2 separate regions of the Homo sapiens genome follow, and region 2 is linked to region 1. The links are contacts of gene promoters, found by promoter capture Hi-C in blood cells and fetal thymus (Javierre and others, 2016). All regions are on one chromosome and are shown on one strand. The core of a region is centred on a gene start or on the middle of the fragment in contact, and the rest is flanking DNA. Distances in the headings are between cores, read along the strand shown.

What was found. Contacts are between HindIII fragments. The CHiCAGO score rates a contact against its expected background, and 5 or more counts as called.
Region 2: a fragment that was not itself captured here is called in contact with the fragment with the promoter of ROPN1L-AS1 in region 1 in 1 of 17 cell types (total CD4 T cells); the score reaches 5.6 in total CD4 T cells.

Annotation. Positions count from the first base shown.
Region 1 is chr5:10,439,839-10,444,430 of GRCh38, forward strand. ROPN1L-AS1 (ROPN1L antisense RNA 1) reads right to left here and starts at 2,013. Exons shown (of 2, transcript NR_102746.1): 1 at 1,850-2,013; 2 at 897-1,535. ROPN1L (rhophilin associated tail protein 1 like) reads left to right here and starts at 2,041. Exons shown (of 5, transcript NM_031916.5): 1 at 2,041-2,460. The coding sequence starts at 2,330. It overlaps MARCHF6 (membrane associated ring-CH-type finger 6), which reads left to right. Exons shown (of 26, transcript NM_005885.4): 26 at 1-550. RefSeq lists a silencer at 1,895-2,154. The HindIII fragment of the contact is 3,763 bases long and covers 1-2,990 here.
Region 2 is chr5:5,496,159-5,500,750 of GRCh38, forward strand. No RefSeq gene overlaps it. Among named protein-coding and RNA genes, the nearest start is that of ICE1, 76 kb to the left of the region's middle. RefSeq lists enhancers at 1,135-1,659, 1,660-2,182. The HindIII fragment of the contact is 4,011 bases long and covers 793-4,592 here.

The DNA of each region.
Region 1 (4,592 bases), core at 763-3,262:
GTTCACCCTGCTCCTGCCGTCCTCCCTGCCTCCAAAACAGGTCAGGCCTTCGTGCCTTTGCACTTACTATTTGCAATACCCAAATGTTCTTCAGGCTCTTTAGCCTCTTCATTTCTTTCCTGAAGTGTCATTCTCACTGAGGCTTATCTAAAGCTGCAGCTACTGGGGCATTCCTGTCTCATCTCCCTGCTGTATTTTGTACTCCCGGCTCTCTTTTGTACTTTTAAACATACTATATGGTTTACCTTTGTTGTTTATATTTGCATGTTGTTTCCCACTTGAATGTAAGCTCCAAAGATTTTATTTTTTTAAACTGAATTATTACTGTATTCCCAGAACAATTCCCTGGCAAATATTTGGTACTCAATAGTAATGCTAAGTTAGTAAATAAATGATGAATTTAGAATCAAAATAATGTGTCTATGGCCAAAATAAAACCTGAAATCCCTGTCCTATTTCCCAGAGGTAACTGCTGTTAATAGTTTAGTTGTGTGCTTCCAGACATACCTTCACAGAATCATTTATCACAATAAAGGTGTCATACTATGCAGATTGTTTGACAAGATGCTTTTTTTCACTTTACACGGGCATCTTTTCATACCATTGTGTGGCCAGGCCATGATTTGTTTTCCAAAAGACATTTACCCAATTTATATGGTGAAGATTTTTGTCCATATTACTTTTTATAGTATTTCTGTAGGGTAAGTTCCCAGAAGTAATATTGCACGATCATCGAAAAATTTTAGTGTTACATTACTGCCCCATAAAGGTACTAATTAACATCCCTCTCAACAACATAGAAGATTCCTTTTTTTTTTTTTCTTTTTTTGGGTGGAGGGGGGCGGGGACAGAGTCTTACTCTGTCGCCCAGGCTGGAGTGCAGTGGTGCCATTTCTGCTCACGGCAACCTCCACCTCCCGGGCTCAAGCTATTCTCCTGCCTCAGCCTCCCAAGTAGCTGGGAATACAGGCACGCGCCACTACGCCCAGCCAATTTTTGTAGAGAAGGGGGTTTCACCATGTTAGCCAGGCTAGTCTCGAACTCCTGACCTTGTGATCAGTGCTGGGGTTACAGGCGTGACCCACCGCGCCCGGACGGATTTCTTGTTTTCATACTGTCATCAACTTTAAATACAAGTATTTTCAGTTTTTGCCAATGCTGTTAATTTAGAAATGTGTATGTATATATTGTCTGGTGGGTGTTTGGATGGAAACGATCAAAATCGGGCAACTTCCCCAGTTTCCTTGAAGGGAGTGCTTGCCATCGGCCCCTCTGGGAAGTAGCTCTCCGTAGTTCTCCATCTTCCTGTTTTGAGGAACGCAGGAGGAGGTGGATCTGGAGTCTCATCCATTCGGTGGCTGTTAACGGCAACTGCAGCAGCCAGCCAGGTCACCCCCTAAAGCAAAGTTAACCCCTTGCATGGTGCCTTGGTCAGCACCCACCAAATTCGAGGTTTCTCCTATCCTTCGACTCGAGGCTCTTTTGACAGATGTGATTTATTTCCTCCTAGAGCCAGTCACATTGGCTCAAGCAACCTATCGTAAGAAAACAAATACAATAGTGTTTTAGCTGGAAACTGCCCACTGTCTAAGCGGCTTTTTAAATTAAGAACTCAGGTTCACTACGGGATGGCTTAGGCCAGGGAACAGCATGTGCGAAGTTCGAAGCCCGAGAAGTTTGGAGGAGCGGCCCCAGGCGCAGGCGGGTCCCGCAGCGGGGCCCGTGCCGCCCAGGCGATCAGCCCCTTCACTTAACCCGCTTCCCTCCTAGCAGGCCCGAGTCCCCTAGCCTCAGCCTCACGCAGCCAGAGCAAGGGGAAGAGGGAGTCCTTCGTGAGTTCGCCGCTCACATTCGGCGGTGGGAAACCGATCCGAAGATGCTTTTGTAGGCGAAACGCTCAGCTCGCGCGGCTCTGAACCACCGGGGAGCAGCGGCTGCTGCTAGTCGGACTACGCCAGCACCTCCTTGTCCAGCCCGGGAGCAGCCCCGCCTCGCTCAGGGCCGCGTGCGCGTGCGCGGCTCCAGGGGCGGGGCCTGCTCGCGTCCCGGGTGCCTGGATACCGAGCGCGTCCGTAGTGGCGGCTGGCGCTAGGGAACTGCAGGGTCTAGGGTGTTGTCGGAGTGGCAGTTGGTCCGAATTTCTCCCGAAGCCCGCGGAGGAGCGGGTAAGAGCCCCGCGAATCCGGCCCCAACCTCGGGAACGGGATGGGAGGCGGCCCTGGCCGCAAGCCCCGCGCTGCTAGCGGGTCCACCGCGTCGTAGCCGACAGCCGCCCTTCTTCCTCGCAGCGCGCCGCGATTCACCAGCCTGGTCCCTTCTGCGGAGAGCGATGCCGCTTCCCGACACCATGTTCTGCGCTCAGCAGATCCACATTCCCCCGGAGCTGCCGGACATCCTGAAGCAATTCACCAAGGCTGCCATCCGCACCCAGCCGGCCGACGTGCTGCGGTGGTCCGCGGGGTAAGCGCCCTTGGCCCGGGGAGCTGTCCGGTCTACATGCCCAAGCCAGACGAGCCCAGAGAGCCCTCCTCCCGGACCAGGGGCCTTACGCGGCACTCAGCGTCCTTAAGAGTATCAGGCAAAACTTTCCCCTTAGCATTGGTGACATCTATACTTGAGTGTTTTATCTAGGAACCATTTCGATTTATCGACTATGAGACCCGAAATCATTGCAAAATGCTCACTTACCTACAACGTAATGGCAACTCAATTGTTTAAAAGTGTTTATGATGAAGATAGACTAAAACTTAACAAAGTAATTGCATTGGGCAAAAAAGTGTTTACATTATGTTAAAAAAATTACACGGTTGCAGTCACTTTGTGAAATGACTTTACAAAGAGGAATATTTTAGCTAAGTTCCTCATCTGCAGAGAGTCCTCTCAGAGCTATGTATACCCAGAGCTGGTTAAATTTATTAGAACCGGAACGACCGTGGTCATACTGAGGTCATCATCCCTAGAGTGCTCAGGGTAAACTGTCCAGCAAATGAAGCTTCACAGTTTATTTTTTGCCACAAACATTCCAACACTTGCCAGGAACAGACATTCATAATCTCAAAGTTACAAGTCAACAGATCTTAGAGGCATTAAAAGAAATCCTCTTGGTTTTACAGGAGAGCTCTTTGCCCCTTTTCAATAAACAGATGTAAAACAAAAACTCACTTTTATGATGACAAGAGTCAGCACAGGTGTAAATTTAATTTAAATATTTTAGTCATCAACATTTCAAATTTTGGCTGGGCTTGGTGGTTCATGCCTGTAATCCCAGCACTTTGGGAGGCCAAGCTGGGAGGATCACTTGAGCCCAAGAGTTTGAGACCAGCCTGGGTAACACAGCAAGACCCCATCTGTATTTTTTTTAATAAGAAAACTAATTTAAAAAGAAAAAAAACAGCCAAATTTTGCTGGCTTTAAACTCTATAACCAAAGTGAATTAGTTTCGTTTGGCTGCTGTAACAAATCACCACAAAACTTGACAGCTTAAAACACAGACATACATTTGGGCCGGGCGCGGTGGCTCACGCCTGTAATCCCAGCACTTTGGGAGGCCGAGGCGGGTGGATCATGAGGTCAGGAGATCGAGACCATCCTGGCTAACAAGGTGAAACCCCGTCTCTACTAAAAATACAAAAAATTAGCCGGGCGCGGTGGCGGGCGCCTGTAGTCCCAGCTACTCGGGAGGCTGAGGCAGGAGAATGGCGTGAACCCGGGAAGCGGAGCTTGCAGTGAGCCGAGATTGCGCCACTGCAGTCCGCAGTCCGGCCCGGGCGACAGAGCGAGACTCCGTCTCAAAAAAAAAAAAAACACAGACATACATTCTTGCAGTTCTGGAGGCCAGAAGTCCAAATTAGTTTCACTAGGCTAAAATCAAGGTGTTGACAGGGCTTTGCTCTTTCCAGTGGTTCTCAGGAAAACCCAGCTCGTTTCCTTGCCTTTTCTGGCTTCTAGAGCTGCATTTCTTGGACGCCTTGGCTCATGTCCCCTTCCTCCATTTTCAAGGCCAGCATCTTCAAATCTCCCTCTGCCTCCTTCTTCCAAGGACACTGGTGATTGCATTCAGTGGCCATCCAGATAGTCCAGGGCAGTTTTCCCACCCGAGATCCTTATCAGTCCACAAAATCCCTGTTACCATGTAAAGTAACATTCCCAGGTTCCTGGAACATGGACCTGGATACCTTTGGGGCTGTTATTTTACCCACCAACTGAGCTACTTGTCCATCCAGTGCTTGCCTTCTGAGAAATGCTTTTATCAATGGTTTCTGAAAGACTCTTTCAAAGTTCTTGCTAAAGAAATATAGCCTCTGGTTTTAACCATTATTCAAGCTTAAATAAAAGGATTTATAAGAGTTTGTGCTGTACAAAAAATTCCAAGATTTAGCAACATCTTCTTGGAACATTAAACTATATTTAGTAATACCTTAGAGATAGTTATGTTAAGCTTCACTTTGTTTATTTATTTATTTATTTTTGAGACGGAGTTTCACTCTTGTTGCCCAGGCTGGAGTGCAATGGCGAGATCTCGGCTCACGGCAACCTCTGCCTCCCGGGTTCAAGCGATTCTCCTGCCTCAGCCTCCCAAGTAACTGGGATTA
Region 2 (4,592 bases), core at 1,548-4,047, 4.9 Mb before region 1:
AGCTTCTCTTTCAAATCACCCCTCGTGTCCCGGGAAGAAGGGGAAATGGTCTACAAGGCGGAAGAACCTACAAATTGTAGGATGTTTACTTAATCCAGGGCCTTGTTAGTGTGGAAACACATCTGTAAATGCAGAATTGAGCTCACAATGCCCTGGCAGCAGCGATGCTCTTTAGAGCTGTGTCGCTGTGTTCCAGGAGACATGTGTTCGCCAAGGAGGAGAAAACCAAACAGGACCCTGTGCCTACCTTAAAATGCGAAAGTGCTTTATGAAACAATGAGCTTCTCTTGCAGGTCATTCTCCAGAATGCCAATTACATACTTATTCTTCCTGCTTGAGAAACGGGAAACATATTCCGTTGTCCAGGAGAGCCATCTGCATTGTGGTTGCTGCACCTTCATGGAAGGAGGGAAATTGTGACTTGCAGTCGAAGCCGAGGGTTCCAACAACTTTTGTTCTGAATTTCTGTAACGGAGGGCCATCCTTTATTTGCATGTTGAAAATCTGTTTGTTAAGTCTGCAGTGGAGCAGAAAATAGAATTTTTAAAGCACTCTCTCCTGACCTTTTCTATTTCGTATTTTTTAAGAGACAGAAATTTAACCCCTATCACATTGGCAATCATCCGGAATAATGTTTTAAATGCATCTTTGTGTTTGTAAAACTTGCTTCGAGATGAGAAAGTAAGTTTTCTGGATTTTGACGCAGTTTTGAAGTGCAGCATGTTAATTTCTAAATAGAAGCACTGGCATTGGATAAACTAAAGTAACGTGAATATAATTCTAGGAACTATAAGCTTACTTTCCTTATTTCTGGCTTTCTTTAGCTCTACGTATCTATTTTTTAATGCACTTAAGAAAAAAGCTATGCAATTGTGAAGGGTTTTTTTTATTATTATTATTCACAGGTTGAGGTTCATTTTGTCTTTCATCTGACAATTCTTTTCATTTAAATTCCACAATATGCCCGAGTGAGCAAAGAGAAAGGAGTCAGGGAGACAGAAATCTTCAAACTAAAACAAACAAACAAACAAAAAACATGCTATGCCTGGCTTCCCAAGCTGATTTTTTGGTTACTGTTATTACTAACCCCATACAAGTGTTTTTAGTGGGAAATAATGTTGATTCAGTTCCCCGGCTCTGGTGCCCACGTGAGCCCTGCAGCCGCCTGTCCTCCCCAGCAGGGAGAGCTCTGCGCTTTGATCATGAACCCTGGCTCTCAAAACGGTTCTTTCATATGGAAGCTCTCCTTCTTCAGACCAAGAACAGGCTTAGGAAAGAAAAGAAACAAAAGGCGTATTTCAAATCCACCCAATGCCATCTTTTTTCAAACATGTTCCTCATGTATATTTCAAAGGGGCCGTTTCCACAGAAGCAAAGACTGCATGAGCCAGTGGCGGCAACGCTTCTAAAGCGCTTGAGAGGGAACTTCCAATAAAGAGCTTTACAGACAGCATTGAGAAATTAGATACTTTTCGAATATTGCAACAGTTTTGTAAGAAAATAACACCTTGGAATGTTTCAGGAGTTGGAGTTCAGAGGCAAAAGCATGTTTGCGATGAAGTAATCTGTCTCTGTGTCTTTGCATCCTGCTGTGCCCCACCGTGTTTTGAAGGAGGGTTGCAGAGTCACTGACCCTGTGGGATGGCCAAACTGCACATGCCCAGCGCTCTGCCCGCCCCAGGGCACCTCTCCCACCTGCCAAGGAACCTGCTCCCACCCTGACCACTCGCAGATAATCCAAGACTCACTATATCTTAATGGAAAACCACAGTCACATTGGCAAATGTTTGGACAACCCGAATCTGACCTCCAGAAAGGAGAGCCCTGCGCACCCCCTGCTCAGGAAGACTTGGTTGTGCGAGTGAAAGTGTGCAGCTGTGAGGAGAAAGCCCTTCCTGGCCTGTTGCCCTGTGTTTTCTGACCACTACGTTTCCTTTGGTTAAAAAAAAAAAAAAAAAAGTCTCTGGGGAAAGATGATAGAGTCCTTTATTAAAAGGCATTTAGCCTACAGGAATGTCTGTATTATTGTGATAGTGATTATTAAAAAATAATCGCAATATAACTTGCCTGGAATTGTTGTTGTTAAAAAGGGTTAGGAATACTTGCATGTCTTTCAGATCGAGGTGGAAAGGGGAGCACCTATAGTTTCTCATGGCTTCATGGGGCTCCTTGCACCCCTGGTAATTGTCTTTTGTCTTGGTGTAGCAATTATGAAACAAGACAAGTGTATCATAAATCATATTTTTATAAGAGTCATCCCCAAATTTTTGGTAGGGCTTAAAACTTTTTTTCGACACAAAATACAGTGCCCCCAAGAAATGTCCATTCAGATAATGAGAATTTGACCTCACAAGACATTTCCGCTCAAAAGACATTTCTTGGGCTGGGTGCGGTGGCTCACGCCTGTAATCCCAGCACTTTGGGAGGCTGAGGCAGGATCACCTGAGGTCAGGAGTTTGAGACCAGCCTGACCAACATGGTGAAACCCGTCTCTACTAAAAATATGAAAAAGTAGCCAGGCGTGGTGGTGCATGCCTGTAACCTCAGCTACTCAGGGGGCTGAGGCAGGAGAATTGCTTGAACCTGGGAGGTGGAGGTTGCAGTGAGCCAAGATTATGCCACTGCACTCCAGCCTGGGCAACACAGCAAGACTCTGTCTCAAAAAAACAACAAACAAGCAAAACACACACAGAAAAAAGACATTTCTTTGCATTAACAAAACCGCACTGCATTTTGTTATTCTGGCAAGGTCCTGGTGGTTTGTTAGTTTATAGAATTAGCAGTCTTTCACTATTGAGATGAAGTAATTTTGATCGCTTTCTTTTGCCTTTATCTTTGATTTTCATTTTGTTTTATGGGGATGGAATGGGCAGGGATTTACATGAAATTTTCAAGTTTAAACATAGATATTACAATATTGTTAATTATTGAAGTAATTTCATGCCACTAATTTTAACTAATTAGGCATTACAAAAATCTTTGCTTGATAAAGAGTTTTTCAGAACTAACTTGGTTTTTCTTTTAAACCAAGGAATACTCAATCTCTGTCTTCCTTAGAACATGCTTGAAAATCAGATATTACTATCATTGTATCTGCTTCTAAAGCTGAGGCACAGGCAGGCTAAGTGACCTTAACATCAATGAAAATGTGGACTTGTGAAAAGCACGAAGCAGATTCTCTAAACCTGCCTGCTGATTCCAATATCCTCATGAAGTACCCAATGGCCTAAGATAAAATGTGTTTCCTCTCCCCCAGACCCTGTGTTTTCACCATCTTAAGCTGGGGAAAGAAACGACAAAAAGTGGCAGAAAGATTAGACTTGGTTTATAGTCATTTCCATCATCTCTTGGAAGAAGAAAGATGCTGGTTACCTTGGGCCTGTAGAGCAGGTCCCGGGAATTGACCACATGAGGCACATTTGTGCGTGGAAAGCAAAAGCAGTGTGTTTTCGGCTGCCTGGGGACCTGGGCACCAGGCACAGTGCTCAGAGCAGCCATCCCGAGGCAGATTTCACCGTGCACAGCCTATGGCATAAGAGCCATGCTGCAAGAGCCGGTGAGTGGCAGACAGAAGTTGCAAACTAGGTCTCTCTGCCTGTTCTCTGGAGCCTGCCTTTTTCCTGGGTGCATTGCCCCTTCTCACTGCCATATTGTATGCATTCATATGTGAGGTTCTTCTTTTTCTGCAAGAAAAAAGAACAAAACACATTAAGGATTTCAAGATTATATCCACCTTATTCAATAGATTTTACCCCAGATAATTTCACAACCTTTTTATATAATTCCAGATTTGATTAAACACTTCCCTTCTCAGTTCTGAAACTTGCATGGACTTAGTCAACCAAAATGTTTTCTCACAAAAACCTCAAAGAACAGTTAACACACACAATTTCTAGTGGTCATGTAAAAAGATAGTAATATATATATTTCTACCTATTGATTCATTTAAAATTAGAAATAATTGCTAAGCATTTTGAGAAAATAATTAGGACTAGTTTGAAGTTTAATTTGGGTAGAAGTCAGTTTGCAGGAATGATACATTTACTTTTAAATTTAGTCATATCCATATTCAGGTCAACATTTACAGTGACCAAAATAAAGACTAATATAAAAATCATTTTAAGAGAATATTTTTAAAACAGAATATTTTTACAGTTGCAATGGACCAGCGTCCTGAGGAAGGAGCAGGCTTCCCCTGTTGATGCTCTGCAAGGTAGACCTGCAGAGGACTGCCTGGCTCCCTTGTCTAAGAAGGGCAAACATCTTCACCTCTCTTAGATGAAGCCTGAAATGTGCTTTAAATCCATAATCCCTGGGTACTCCTGGAAACCACAAACCTGCCCACTCATTGTCAGTAGAGCCCAGTAGAAGTCAAAAATAAAGAGGGGGTTTCTGCAGAATTGTAGACTAATAGCATGATTAAGATGCTGACTAAAATATATATATATTTAACTTTTATATTTTGAGATGAAGTCTCACTCTGTCACCCAGGCTGGAGTGCAGTGGTGCGATCTCAGCTCACTGCAATCTCTGCTTCCCGGGTTCAAGCGATTCCCCTGCCTCAGTCTCCTGAGTAGCTGGGACTACAGGTG